Linked DNA regions of Homo sapiens: region 2 is linked to region 1. Evidence: promoter capture Hi-C in 16 types of primary human blood cells and fetal thymus (Javierre and others, 2016). All regions are on one chromosome and are shown on one strand. Each heading gives the region's core, a stretch centred on a gene start or on the middle of the fragment in contact. The rest is flanking DNA. Distances are from core to core; before and after follow the strand shown. Region 1 holds the start of TMEM68 (transmembrane protein 68). Region 2 holds the start of YTHDF3 (YTH N6-methyladenosine RNA binding protein F3).

Evidence for each region. The method cuts DNA at HindIII sites, captures the fragments that hold promoters and counts their contacts. A CHiCAGO score of 5 or more calls a contact.
Region 2: a fragment that was not itself captured here is called in contact with the fragment with the promoter of TMEM68 in region 1 in 1 of 17 cell types (total CD4 T cells); the score reaches 6.7 in total CD4 T cells.

The regions. Positions count from the first base shown.
Region 1 is chr8:55,770,072-55,777,638 of GRCh38, forward strand. It overlaps TMEM68 (transmembrane protein 68), which reads right to left and starts at 3,307. Exons shown (of 8, transcript NM_001286657.2): 1 at 3,198-3,307. TGS1 (trimethylguanosine synthase 1) reads left to right here and starts at 3,375. Exons shown (of 13, transcript NM_024831.8): 1 at 3,375-3,648. The coding sequence starts at 3,548. RefSeq lists enhancers at 2,209-2,712, 3,484-3,813 and silencers at 2,934-3,063, 3,154-3,343. The HindIII fragment of the contact is 10,724 bases long and covers 1,855-7,567 here.
Region 2 is chr8:63,162,301-63,169,867 of GRCh38, forward strand. YTHDF3 (YTH N6-methyladenosine RNA binding protein F3) reads left to right here and starts at 6,321. Exons shown (of 5, transcript NM_152758.6): 1 at 6,321-6,601; 2 at 7,087-7,111. The coding sequence starts at 6,578. It overlaps YTHDF3-DT (YTHDF3 divergent transcript), which reads right to left and starts at 6,142. Exons shown (of 1, transcript NR_102684.1): 1 at 5,425-6,142. RefSeq lists enhancers at 5,864-6,083, 6,284-6,603 and a silencer at 6,684-6,923. The HindIII fragment of the contact is 1,313 bases long and covers 3,503-4,815 here.

The sequences.
Region 1 (7,567 bases), core at 2,057-4,556:
TTTAAATCTCAATGCAACCCCTTAATTGTGCAGATAACAAAAAAAGTAAACACAGAAAGCCAAGTTTGCTTGCTTAAAATTACTAAATTAATTCAGTAAAAGCCAAGAACTAAAATTAAAATCTAGTCATCTTACCTCCTGGTCTGGCTTCCAACACACTTTCTTTGATATATCTCTCTTTTTCTCTCTTGACAGAAAGAAAATATTAAGATTGCAATTTCTGTCTTCCCTATACTTCTGCCTGGCCCTTCCCCTTCCCCCTGAATTTACCTGGGGGTGTAACTGACTTCTTATCACTTTATTTTAATCCAAGAAAAATGACATGGGCCAGGGTGGCTCACGCCTGTGATTCCAACAGTTTTCGAGGCCAAGGTGGAAGGACTGCTTGAGTTCAGGAGTTTGAGACCAGCCTGGGGGCAACATACTGAGACCTTGTCTCTACCAAAAAAAGGTTCGCCAGGCATGGTGGCACGTTCCTGTAAGTTGCAGCTACTTGGAAGGCCAAGGCAGGAGGACTGCTTGAGCCCGTGGAGTGAAGACTGCAGTAAGCTATAATGATCACACCACTATACTCCAGCCTGGGCAACTGAGCAAGACCCTGTCTCGGGGGCAGGGGGGAACTCTATGTACTAGAAGATGTTTTGGGGGAAATACAATATTTTAGTTCTCAAAATTCCAGGTTATTTTCTACAGCCCCCTGCTCCTAAAAATCTAAAATAAACACAGTCTAATGCATCACATATAAAGTATCTTAATTTCCCTATCTGGAAATCACGTAACTTTTGTAAAAACAAGTAGACAAGGCCACGCGCGGTGGCTCATGCCTGTAATCCCAGCACTTTGCGAAGCAGCGGCAGGAGGATCACCTGAGGTCGGGAGTTCGAGACCAGCCTGACCAATGTGGAGAAACCCTGTTTCTACAAAAAATACAAAATTATCCAGGTGTGGTGGCGCATGCCTGTAAACCCAGCTACTCAGGAGGCTGAGGCAGAAAATCGCTTGAACCCAGGAGGCGGAAGTTGCGGTGAGCCAAGATCGCACCATTGCACTCCAGCCTAGGCAACAAAAATGAATCTCCGTCTCCAAAAAAAAAAAAAAGTTGACAAGCTCAAATATCACCATATTGACATTGATGGTGAGGATATGGACCTTACAGATGTTTAAAATCAGAGTATTTCAAAAACTAATAAATCAGAACAGAGAACTTTTTGGCTTTCAATAAAACCTTAAGAAAGTGTATCTATTTTAGGCTGGGCTCAGTGGCTCATGCCTATAATCCTAACACTTTGGGAGGCTGAGGCAGGCAAATCACTTGAACCCAAGAATTCAAGACCAGTCTGGGCAATATGGCAAAACCTTGTCTCTACAAAACACACACACACACACACACACACAAAATTAGGCAGGCATGGTGGCATGCCTGTAGCCCCAGCTACTCGGGGGGCTGAGGTAGGAGGATTGCTTGAGCCTGGGAGGTAGAGGTTGCTGTGAGCCGCGATCGCGCCACTACACTACAGCCTGGGTGACAGAGCAAGATCCTGTCTCAAAAAAAATAAATAAATAAATAAATAAAGTATATCTATTTTGAACACCCATTACCAGTACTTTTCCATTTTACTTTTAGTATATAAGTCACATTGAGAACATTCTGAAAATGCCAATTAAAAGATATAGTCACTGAAAAACAAGTTTTCCTGTTTCCTTTCTGCATATTTAATAATGGTTTAACAGAGATACAGCACTGTTTTACTGAATAGGACTTCTACTTCAAACCATGAATAAAGCTGCAATTTAGTATTTGTCAAGATAGCTGGTAAATCTAATCCTTTTAGCTTTAATACTTTTTTTATTTCAAGCTTTAAACTCGAGGTTCTGATACAAATTACCCTTCAAGACTTTTCTTTAATCCTAGAATGCCCAACTTCTAGCTAAAATCTTCCACTCTGTTTCATAATTACTGTTCTACCCTTATTATCGTAACCCAGCTACTCATCCCAATAATGCTGCACATCTATACTGGTATATCTGTAACCGTGCAGCACTCTTACCTTCTTGAACCAACAAAATCAGCCTATCTCCGACCTCAAAGTAGGGCAGCAGTAAGGAGGTGGGAATAAACATTTGAAAATGAATATTTCCACTAACTAGTAAATGTGGCCAAAATACTATTGAAAATACCATTCAAAATGCATGAATTTTAGCTCAGTTTTTATATAGTTCTGAAGAAGTACCAATACTATTTTGGCATTTCGTAGCACCAACCACGTCCGAAGCGCTCCAACTTTCAAGTCTGAGCTTGTCTCTGAAGAAGTTGCCCGTGCAGCCTCCATGAATACCACACACCAAATACTAACTGCTTTTTAACAGATCCAGCAACGCTGCTGTTTCCATTTTCTCCATCCTATTTATGCCCACATGAACTTTTTTCTTATTAGATAATTAGTAACTTGAAGGCAGAGACCTGTTTTACAGGCTGCAAACCCCAGGGACCGAGACAGCACTTAACGCCTACAAGGTCCAAACCGACGCCAACGATTAAGCGCACAAAGGAAAGGTGTAATATACATCATTTCGTTTAGTCCTCCCTGCAGCCTCATGTAGTAGTTACTATTAATCAACCCCATTTCACAGGTGATCAAAGGTAAGCTCAGAAAGGTGAAGTTGCCTGCCCAGGTCACAAGGTAGGACCAGGATTCCAAGCCTGATCGGTCTGGATACGAACGCTCTACCCACGCGGCTTTCCCCCTACACTCTCGGGATCACCACACACTTCCCCTTGGCTTTTACACCGGAGGCTCGACCTGGGTCCCGGAACCAGCGAAGCCACTGGGCAAGCCTAGAGGCCTCTACAGAGGCTAGAGACGCCTCGCCCCACCAGATGCATTAGGATGAAACGCGCCGAACCGAAGGTTTAGAGCGCCAGGGGAGAAGAGGGGCGGGGAGAGCAGGCTCTTTGACCCAGAGGAGGGAGGATCTCCACACCCGGCCACTCTGGCGCTGGGGCGCAACACTGAGGCCGGCGGGAAGCCGAGCCTGCCCGCGAAGAGACTGGGGATTCCGAGGCGGCTCCTGGGAGACCGGACGCGCGCGGCCTCCGCCGCTCCCAGTCCCGCCAGACCCGATGCCGGGCTGGAGAAGCGCGGGGGCCGACGCACCTCGGATAGGCGGGGGCAGGGGCAGGGGCAGCTCTCCTTTACCCTAGAGCGGCGACAGAAGCTCTTCGGGGGATCAGTGGCCAAGGGGGCGGACAGATTTGCACGGCGGATTCCTCCGAAGCAACCCGTGTGAAAGAAGCCAAGCGGCGGCTGCAGCCCGGGCCGCGATGGGGGTGACACCGCCCGTGGTCCCGCCCCTTCCCGTGGCCCCTCGGAGCCACTTCCGGCGGCAGCGTCCGGGCTAGTTCCCGGCGCGAGCGGCCGCGGGCCAGTTTCTATCTCCTCATCCAGGGCTTGCGGGCGAGGCCTGTTTTAAGTCTCCAGTAACCGAGCGGAGGCCCGGCAGGCGCGACCCGGGCTGCGTACGTCAGAGCTGCCTCCGAAGTGGTAAAATGTGCTGCGAGAAGTGGAGCCGCGTGGCGGAAATGTTTCTCTTCATTGAGGAGCGGGAGGATTGTAAGATACTGTGCCTTTGCTCCAGGGCATTTGTGGAGTAAGTAGAAAAGAGAATCTCTTCATGTTCTAGCACAGTCATTACCCAGAAATGTAGGTATTGCAAACGTGGTTGTAATTGATCCCTGAAAGCAGCCAGAACATCTGACCCTTGGGCACGGTGATGTTTAAGAAAAACAAAACCCTCAGACATGACGGAGTGGTCGCCCACTGCCATTATTTTTATGTGAAGGACTACATCTACTTGGTAGGCTGCTATGAAAAAATGTCGTAGGTGCTATATGTCATCTCATATTTGTAAATCGAGGGGACATTTAAAAATTGGGGGAAAGCGACATGTAAAATGAAATCTCTAGTAGATATGATGTCATAAAGTGAAAGTTTAAAGTTGAGTGACTTGCTTTGGTTAACGTCTTTTTTTAAACCTAAAAATCTACTTAAGCCCAAATGCACATAATTAAAACTTCAAACTAGTTGAGATAAAAGACTTAACCATATTTACATCAGTTTTTGTGATATCTTTATTTTGGGGAAATCTTTGAATCAGGTAAAAATTGCCCCACATGAAAAATAGCTAGTATGCAGGAATAATACCGCCAAGAGACTTGAATTCTAGGAATTGTTTCCTTTATATTAAATGCGTGAGTTAAACCACTTGAACCTTTTTTTCATCTCTATAACGGGTATATTTAATCTCACATGCTTATTTTGTTAGAGTTAAATCCTTGTGGAAGTGAATTTTATGTGATAGACTTTTAATATAGTTTAATATAGTAGGATTTAAGTTTGAAGGAATTCATTTTTCTCGTGTAATTTTGTGGAGTAATTTGAAAACGCAAAAAGAAGTTAAACTTGTTAAATTTAATGTAAAAAGTATTGTCGCCTTTTTAGTCAGGCATGCATGTAGTCATACAATCATTCAGAAAATGTTTTTTGTGCTCTTGTATATCAAGTATGCTGGTAGGCACTGAGGTACAAGACATTCTGTCCTTACATGTATTGAGTTTACTTCCTAGCAGAGAAGATCAATATTAAGATAACTGGTTACATTATTACTTGGTTGATTATAGTTATAAGTGCTATGAGAGAGAAGTGCAGGATGCTGTGAAAACAAATAACTTTCCAAGGGTCACAGAGGTTTCTTTGAGGAAGTAGCTTTTGGAAAGAGGTCTAAGGGGGATAAATTGGGGTGAGTTTCAGTGGGAGAAAGCGTTCTCTGCAGGCTGAACTCAGTAAAGGCCTTGAGGGAGCAAAAGAAAGCCTGGGAAACTGAACAAAATGGCTGGGAGGGAGGGCACGGTGGTGCACACCTGTAATCCCACCACTTTAGGAGGCCGAGGAGTGAGGATCACTTGAGCCCGGAAGTTGGAGACTAGCCTGGGCAACATAACAACACCTCATCTGTACTGAAATTTTTTTTTAAAATTAGCCAGCTGTGGTGGCACATGCTTGTAGTCCCAGCTACTCTGGAGGCTTGGGCCAGATGCTCTCTTGAGCCCAGGAGATCCAGGCTGCAGTTAGCCATTGTCGTGCCTGGATGACAGAGCAAGACTCTGTCCCGAAAAAAAAAAAGAAAAGAAAAGAAAGAAAAGAAAAAAAACTGGGAAAGAAAGAAGATAGGGTGTGCACAGTAGGCAGGGTCAAAACCCGCAGGACTTTGTAGACTATAGGAAAACCTTAAGCTGGGGAATGACATGATCAGATTTGCATATTTAAAATACTACTCAGGCGGCAGTGTGGAGGATTGTTTGGAGGAAGAGAACCACTTAAGACCATTGTTTAGGCAAGAGATTATAGTGACTTGGATTAGGATAAATGGCAGCAGAAATGGAGAAAGAAAGAAAGATGGGAGAAAACTTGCTGGGGGTGGGGACTGAATTGTATTGCTGCCTTTCACTGAGGTAGGGATCACTGGAGAATCATGAATTTTATTTTGGGTCAACGGAGAAGAGATTATGAGTTTGATTTTATACATTTTGATTTGGGGGTATCTATGAGATAACCAAGAGTAGATGGTATAAGCAGTTAGATATATTGATTTGGAGCGCTGGAGAAGTCTGGGCTAGTTTTAAAAACTTGAGCCATTTAGCCTTAGATAGTGATTGAACCCATGAATGAAGGGTGGGGGAGGGGGACCCACCTTTGAGGAATTCCAGCACTTTTTAAAGACAAGAAGAGATGGATTAACTAGGAAACAGACAAGCCTAAGTACACTGTCACCAAGTGTTTCAGTGAAGGTGTAATCAACATTGGAAAGCTGCCAAAATATCAAGCAAAATGAGGACTAAAAGTATCCACTAGAATTGACTAAATCCCTTGGATCGATTGACTGTAGCAGGAAGAACCGCAGACAAAACCCCTCAGACACCAGGTTAAAGAAGGAAGGGGTTTATTCGGCCAGGAGCATCGGCAAGACTCCTGTCTCAAGAGCCGAGCAACCCGAGCGAGCAATTCCTGTCCCTTTTAAGGGCTCACAACTCTAAGGGGGTCTGCATGAGAGGATCGTGATTGATTGAGCAAGCAAGGGGTACGTGACTGGGGGCTGCGTACACCACTAATTAGAAAGGAACCGAACTGGACAGGGGTCTTCACGGTGTCTTTTTTTTTTTTTTTTTTTTTGAGACAGAGTCTCGCTTTGTTGCCCAGGCCAGAGTGCAGTGGCGAGATCTCTGCTCACTGCAAGCTCCACCCCCTGGGTTCACGCCATTCTCCTGCCTCAGCCCACCAAGTAGCTGGGAATACAGGCGCCCGCCACAATGTCCAGCTAATTTTTTGTGTATTTAATAGAGACGGGGTTTCACTGTGTTAGCCAGGATGGTCTCTGTCTCCTGACCTCTGATCCACCCGCCTTGGCCTCCCAAAGTGCTGGGATTACAGGCGTGAGCCACTGTGCCCGGCCCAGTGCCTTTTTTATGCAAATAACCGATTAGGTCAGGGGTGGATCAGTAACTACCAGGCCCAGGGTGTGGCGCCGGGCTGTCTGCTTATGGATTTCATTTCTGCCTTTTAGTTTTTACTTCTTTCTTTGGAGGCAGAAATTGGGCATAAGACAATATGAGGGGTGGTCTCCTCCCTTAGATGACTTATTAAGTGCCACCACTAATTGTTCTACATTTTGTACTGACAGAGACTCTCCTTAACCAGACTTTACACAGGCTCTGAGTGAGCTCTCCTTTTGATTAGGCCTTGTCATTTGGGACTTGTCTTCAACCTGTCTGGTCCAGTTTTAACAAGAATCCTTCTAAGTCCATTAGTTTTTTTGTTTGTTGGTTTTTTTTTGGTGGTGGCGGGGTGGTTCTTGGGTGTTTTTTTTGTTTTGTTTTTTGGGTTTTGGGAGGTTTATTTTGAGACTGGGTCTCACTTTGTCACCCAGGCTGGAGTGCAATGGTACAATCACAGCTCACTGCAGCCTCAACTTCCCTGGCTCAAGCAATCCTCCTACCTTAGCCTCCTGAATAGCTGGGACCACAGCTATGCACCACCATACCTGCCTGATTTTTTTATTTTTTGTAGAGACAGGGATCTCACCTTGTTGCCCACACTGGTCTGGAATGCCTGGGTACAAACAGTTTTCCCACCTCAGCCTCCCAAAGTGCTGGGATTACAGGTGTTTTTTTTTTTTTTTAGCCAGAATCCTGCTAAGTCCATGTAGCAAGATCTTCCCACCCTTCGTATCTGATCGCTCTGGCCTGCCCTCAGCAAGAATACTGTTGGTATAGCAACAATCCCCCCATGCTGGATGTCTCCCCTTAGTAATTTTCCATCCACTGACCACGCCCCCTGAATTTTGCCCATTGGCTATCTTCAGCTGTCTTTGCTATATTTGAAGTTGAGCAAAATTTCTCTCCATTGCCATTATCTTTTTTTTTTTCTCTTTTGAGACAGAGTCTCACTCTGTCGCCCAGGCTGGAGTGCAGTGGCATGATCTCGGCTCACTGCAACCTCTGCCTCCCAGATTC
Region 2 (7,567 bases), core at 2,909-5,408, 7.4 Mb after region 1:
AGCCTCCCCAACGAGCACCACCCCCTACTCCACGGCGCCCAGTCCCATCGACCACCCAAGGGCTGAGGAATGCAAGCGCACGACGCGGGACTGGCAGGCAGCTCCACCTGCAGCCCTGGTGCGGGATCCACTAGGTGAAGCCAGCTGGGCTCCTGAGTCTGGTGGGGCCTTGGAGAATCTTTATGTCTAGCTCAGGGATTGTAAATACACCAATCAGCACCCTGTGTCTAGCTCAGGGTTTGTGAGTGCACCAATCAACACTGTATCTAGCTTCTCTGGTGGGGCCTTGGAGAGTCTTTATGTCTAGCTCAGGGATTGTAAATACACCAATCAGCACCCTGTGTTTAGCTCAAGCTTTGTGAGTGCACCAATGGACACTCTGTATCTAGCTGCTCTGGTGGGGCCTTGGAGAACCTGTGTGTTGAAACTCTGTATCTAACTAATCTGATGGGGACGTGGAGAACCTTTGTATCTAGCTCAGGGATTGTAAACACACCAATCAGCGCCCTGACAAAACAGGCCACTCGGTTCTACCAATCAGCAGGATGTGGGTGGGGCCAGATAAGAGAATAAAAGCAGGCTGCCCGAGCCAGCATTGGCAACCCGCTCGAGTCCCCTTCCACGCTGTGGAAGCTTTGTTCTTTTGCTCTTTGCAATAAATCTTGCTACTGCTCACTGTTTGGGTCCACACTGCTTTTATGAGCTGTAACACTCACCGCGAAGATCTGCAGCTTCACTCCTGAGCCCAGTGAGACCACGAGCCCACTGGGAGGAACGAATAACTCCAGACGCGCTGCCTTAAGAGCTGTAACACTCATCGCGAAGGTCTGCCGCTTCGCTCCTGAGCCAGTGAGACCACGAACCCACCAGAAGGAAGAAACTCCGAACACATCTGAACATCAGAAGGGACAGACTCCAGACGCGCCACCTTAAGAGCTGTAACACTCGCTGCGAGGGTCCGCGGCTTCATTTTTGAAGACAGTGAGACCAAGAACCCACCAATTCCAGACACACCACCACCACTGTCGGCTTTTTTTTTTTTTTTTTTTTAATACATGGACTTTTGGTCCAACCCTAGAGCTTCTGATTCTGTAAATAAGGGCTGAGTCCTGAGAATCTGCATTTGAATAAGTTCCTAGGAGATGTTGCTGCTAGTCCCAAGGAAACAGTTTGAAGAAATTGCTTTAAGCAAATCTTAAGGTTATTTGATGTTTTCTGCTGCCTTTTTCTTACCATTGTAAATTTCTCTGCAGTAAACTTAAGAATAAATGGAAAAGTTTTGGCTTTTCTGTTTCAAAGCAGATTGATTGACTGATTTTTTACTTTATTCAGTGTCCTTCTTAGCTATTAGTGGTTTTACCTTATGCATGATATTTAAGAATACCTCCTTTTAAAAGTGCATCGATCAATCCTCAAGCTGAATTCTCTACACTTCGTTCATGTACTATATATGTTACTTAAAGATAACAGAAAGCCTTATAAATTTTGGCTTAAACACTGGTAAAATTCAAAGATAAGTTTAAGTGCTGCTAGTTAACAAAGCAAATCCAGGAAATTACTAGGCACAGAGTTTATTACTAAGTATCCCCCCACCCATTCTCCCCCTCTTCCTTAGTAATAAACATCCTCATTTTTAACTGAACACATGGCCACTCAGAATATATTTTCCAGCTTTCACTTAACTTTAAATACTTGTAGGAAACTATGTTTTAGTTAGTAGAAAGTAGCCAGAAATGTTAATATAGTTTGGATGTTTGTCCCCTCCAAATTTCACAATTAAATGTAATCCCCAGCCGGGTGCGGTGGCTCAAGCCTGTAATCCCAGCACTTTGGGAGGCCGAGGCGGGCGGATCACAAGGTCAGGAGATCGAGACCATCCTGGCTAACACGGTGAAACCCCGTCTCTACTAAAAATATGAAAAATTAGCTGGGCGTGGTGGCAGGATCCTGTAGTCCCAGCTACTTGGGAGGCTGAGGCAGGAGAATGGTGTGAACCTGGGAGGCGGAGCTTACAGTGAGCCGAGATCGTGCCACTGCACTCCAGCCTGGGCGACAGAGCAAGACTCCATCTCAAAAAAAAAAAAAAAAAAAGTAATCCCCAATGTTGAGGGTGGAGAGGCATTTGGATCACTGGGGCAGATCCTTCATGAATGGTTTAGCACCATCCCCTTGGTGATGATTGAGTTCTTTCTCTGAGTTCACAGAAGATCTGGTTGTTTAAAAGTGTGTGTCACCTCCCCCATCTCACTCTTGCATCCATTCTCGTCATGTGTAAGCTAGCTCCCCCTTTGCCTTCTGCCATGATTGCAAGCTTTCTGAGGCCTCATCAGAAGCCAAGCAGATGCTGGACCATGCTTCCTGAATAGCCTGCAGAACAGTAAGTCAATGAAACCTCTTTTCTTTATAAATTTCCCAGTCTCGGGTATTCCTCTGTAGCGATGCAAAAACAGACTAATACAAATGGGAAAAATGCAATTTCTACAAAATGTCCTTAAAGGAGAACAATGTGCTTTCTTAACCTTGTTTTTCTGCTGGTGGGAATGTGATTAGGATGGCTGGAAGTTGAGCAGCCATCATGGGCCACAGGTAGAGGTATCATAATGAGGATTGTTAGATATGAGTTCTAAATTTCTTTTCAAAGAATCAATATGTCAGTATGTTCAATTCTTTGCCTTTTACTTTTAAACTTAACTTCCTCATAAAGCAACCTTTTTCGATTACCTGCTCCATCCTGACTCATTCTGATTACCTACTCCACCCTGACTCATTCCAATTACCTGCTCTGTCATAACCATTTTTCCCGCCAAACCACTCACCCTGTCAGTCTCTTTAAGTTAGCCAGTCAGAATTAGTTTAGCCTGTGCGGTCTAACCCTAGCCAATAGGGGAACAACACAGCAGAAGGGGCCACATGCGTCAGGGATAGAACCCCTTCCCTTCCCTTGTCTAAGTCTGTGCTCACCGTTGTTCCATCTGTAAGGGTGCACCCTTCTGTAGAAGTAACTTGCCTTGCTGAGAATTAAAAAGTAAATTCTATATTCGAGTGCTACTTCTTTTGTGGCAACAAAACTTTATTTATAACAGGATGGTGGAACAACAGACTAGAAGAAGCCTGGATTATCTGATACAATGGCAACCCAAGTCCTGGAGTATATCCAGACTGCTGTTGTATGAGAAAAACAGATTTCTATCTTCGGCTCCTGTTATTTTGAACTTGATACCACTTGTAGCTGAACCTAATTTGAACTGATACAAGTAATCATACAGAAGTTACAGTTGTGCAGACTGGAACTTCACTGTCTGTAATTTCAGCACTTTGGGAGGCCAAGGTGGGAGGATCCCTTGAGCCCAGGAGTTGGAGACCAGCCTGGGCAACATAGCAAGAACATGTTGCTATAATTAAACAACAAAACAACAAATAACAACAACACACGCACACACAAACACCAAAGTTGGCTGAGGGAAAAATGGGGCCTTAAATCCAGCCTGCCCTCTCCTTTCCAAGCTTTGCACTGTGCTGTGTGCTCCAGGAGACTGACACACCCTAGTGGCTCTTTAGAAGAGTGCATTTTTACCTAGAAACTAGGCTCTGTGGCAACATTTTTCAAAATATCCTCTCCATTCTCCTTGCCCAAGACCATGGGAACCCATCTCTTGCATCATCATGACATGGATGTGAGACCTGGAGTCAAAGGGGATCATTTTGGAGCTTTAAAATTTGAGTGCCCTTTGCATGGGCCCTGTAACCCCTTTGTTTTGGCCAATTTCTCCCATTTGGAATGGCTGTATTTACCCAATATCTGTACCCCCTTTGTATCTACGAAGTAGCTGGCTTGCTTTTTATTTTACAGGCTCATAGGCGAAAGGGACTTGCCTTGTCTCAGATGAGACTTTGGACTGTAGACTTTTGGGTTAATGCTGAAATGAGTTAAGACTTTGGGGTACTGTTGGGAAGGCATGATTGGTTTTGAAATGTAAGAAATGAGATTTGGAGGGGCCAGGGCAGAATGATATAGTTTGGCTATGTCCTCACCCAAATCTCAACTTGAATTTATCTCCCAGAATTCCCACGTGTTGTGGGAGGGACCCAGGGGGAGGTAATTGAATCATGGGGACCGGTATTTCCCATGCTAATCTCATTATAGTGAATTAAGTCTCATGAGATCTGATAGGTTTATCGGGGTTTCCCACTTTTGCTTCTTCCTCATTTTCTCCTGCTGCCCTCCATGTAAGAAGTGGCTTTTGCCTCCTGCCGTGATTCTGAGGCCTCCCCAGCCATGTGGAACTTTAAACACAATTTAACCCCTCTTTCTCTTCTCAGTCTCGGGTATGTCTTTATCAGCAGCATGAAAACGGACTAATACACTCCTGGAGGCATTGGAGATGGTTTCAGGTAGTCCCCAGATGTACTTCAAAAGTCTGTTAATATTAAATTAAGTAGGTTTATATCTGAGGGTAGGTATTATTGCTAGGAAGAAAAGCCATAAAGAAAGAAGTTTGTTGAGCAAAAATGAAAGAGAATAGAAGCTCATAATATTATGTCATTAGGCAGTATTATATGGTAGTTATTAGAGTGGGAACTTGGGAGTCACACTGCTTGAGTTCAAATCCTGGCTCTCATAGTGACTAGCTGTGTTGTTTGTGGCGTGTTTCCTAACCTCACTGTGTCAGTTTTTATAATGGCACTTCTGCAAGGATGCTGTGGGAATTAACATGACATATAATGTGTTCTCAATAAATGTAAGCGATTACTATTTCCGGGAATCTTTTAGCGAAGGAACAATTCATTACCTGTATATAGCCACAATTTGCTGAAAGCTTACTTTTGTGTCAGGAACTGTACACGAAGGACCTAATTTTACTCATGAGGAAGCTAAAGCTTAGAAAGTTTCAGTGCCTTTACCAAGATTATAACACTAATTCTTGCTCCACTAGAATTTAAATTCGAATTGATTGGGTTCCAAAGCCATGATACTAAGGATCAAAGACAAGGCTTGCAAGATTTAAGCCTCCTCTTGTATATTCTCTCTCAAGTTCCTGGCTCATAGCATGTACCAGCAAACTCATTAAAACTAAAACGGTCTGTTTGGGAGTGAAGGATGGGAGACATTGAGAGCAACAGCAGAAAGGGTTGGGGGAGTCTTGGGAAATGCAAGGGTGCTTAGGTTGGGACCCGTGGCAATGAATGGAAGGGCAAGGGAAACTGTCTAACCAGAACTTAAAAATGCCTCTTGGTGATTTACATGAAAAGTGGCCTCTCAAGTTTTTCTATTATTCAGTGCTTCTAAGATACTGTTGCACTGTAAACCACAAAATTAATCTTATGATTCTACAATTTTACTTTCTAAATGATCACTTATTTGATGGTTTTTGAAGTACAGAAAGTATTTGGTCATTTAAATTATTTCCTTCCATGGACTCTGTATCACTGAGACAAGGAATCTTTGCCTTTATTGTAGATATTTCAATGAAAATGTCAACACGTTGCAAATTGGCATACTTTGGGTTTGCCAATATGTGATAAAGAACTTTTTCAATGGAAACTTTCCCTCTTTTCAGGGCCGAAAAGACGCTCTGCAACTATACTTAAGTATCCTAGGCAACTTTATTCATTCAAAAACATCAGAGCGGAGTCAAAAGCACAAATCCATGAATTGGGCGGCGAAGTCTGACTCCAGAGATTACGGCTGAACTGGGTTTGGAAAGACTGAACCCGCGCCGGTGCTCCTCCTGTTTGCTTGGACTTAAGTTTGAGTACCACAACTCTAACCTGCCACTTCAGCTGCACGGGCAGGCTTGTGGGGACCCAGCAACTCCGTCCAGAGAGCGGCTGAGTCAGCCAGCCGTCCCCACGGCTTTGGGCAGCCGCCGAAGGCTCCTGCTAGGCCCGGCTGGCTCACCGGGAAGTTCCCTGCCTCCGTCCCGTCAGCCTCCAGGAGGGCGCCGCCGGCCGCCGTGACTTCAGCAAGGCACTACTATCTCCGTCAGCCGCCGCCTCGGCCATCTTCCTGCCCGGAGTGCAACAAAATCCGGCTCTGGCCAGCCTTCCAGCTGACGCCACTCTGCCAGGGCCCTGCAGCCTCGGAGCGGGATAGAAGGAAGCCGCAGAAAAGACGCTGAAAGTTGGCGCTCGCTGACGCCCCGACGCGCTCCCTCCATGACGCATGCGCCCACCGGCCGTGAGCGCGGGTCCGGTCTCCGGTGACGTGGCGGTGAGGAGGCGGAGCCAAGATCAGCGGCGGGAGGGTGGGGGAGGAAGAGCGAGGTGAGCGCGGACGTCAGAGTGGAGAGCGGAAGGTCAGGGAGGCTCGGAGCGGAAGTGAGACTAGGGAGTCTGTCCGCCATTGTGGACCCGAGAAGCAGAGAGCGAGAGGGGGAAGAGGAGCGTGCAAGCGGAAAAGACGGGCCTCTTCCTCCGACTCCCGAGCGCGAGGCCCTCATTTTGGGTTCTCAGCGAACGGCGGCAGCGGCGGCGGCTGGAACAATCACTCGGCCAAGGGCGACAGCCAACTGCTGTGAGTGCACGGGGAGAGGCCCAGGCAGCGGCGGCGGCGGCGGCTCTCGGGTTGCGGTGAAGAATGTCAGCCACTAGCGTGGATCAGGTGAGGGAGCAGAGGCCCCAGGCTTGGCGAAGGCCCGAGCCCCGGAGCTCCACCCTCGCGCGGGGCTTCGGCTCCTCCCCGTCGCCGCCGCTGCCGGCCCCATAACGGTGCCCCGGGCGCAAGTTGCTGCGGTGTAGCTACCCGGGCCGGGGCGTGCGCCCTGGCCCCGTAGCTTGCGGGCGGGCGGGCGCGGTGCCGCGGCGGGTGGGGGCAAGGACCGGTCTTAGGGGCCTTAGGACAGATCCTGAGGGCGGCAGACATGGGGCGGAGACCGGGCGAGCTCTGGGAGACGGATTCCGAGTGGCGGGTGGGAGGTTTAAAGGCTGGGGGTGGTTGGGAAATTGGTGGCTGTGGAGGATATGGTGGGTTTTTACTCCTACGCGGATAGTCTAAAATAACTTGTCTTTGATAATGCCTTTGATTAACACACTTTTTCTTTTCTTCCTTTTTCTCCTCTTTACCGCATCTTTCGTCTTGCAACACAGAGACCTAAAGGGCAAGGAAATAAAGGTGAGTTTGGATTTTTTTTTTTCTTATTGCTCAATGTTGCCTTAATGTTACTTTTAAACTCTGTGAGGGTATTTTGTTTGTTTTTGCTCCCTCTTGGGAAAAAATGTAGGATTAGGGAAAATATTCATCATGGCTAAGGTAGCCAAGTTCTATCCAGAACTTCGGTAGTTCGTTGCTTTGAAGCCACTTTATAGAAACCAAAGTAGTACGAGAAACAGTTTCCTTGTCAGTTAAGCAGGTATTGGTGTGAACCTGGTGGTATTTCTTTGGTTTTCCAGTTTTTCTGTGTTATGTAACTTATGCCACAAAAAATTTCTACATGTGTATATAGACAAGTATATTCTTAAAGTGGACATTTTGTTTGACATGTCTGGATTACACTGGAAAATGGAAGTCTACATAGTATTCCATCACATTAATGAAAATTGTACTGTTAATCACTGATTCTATTGAAGT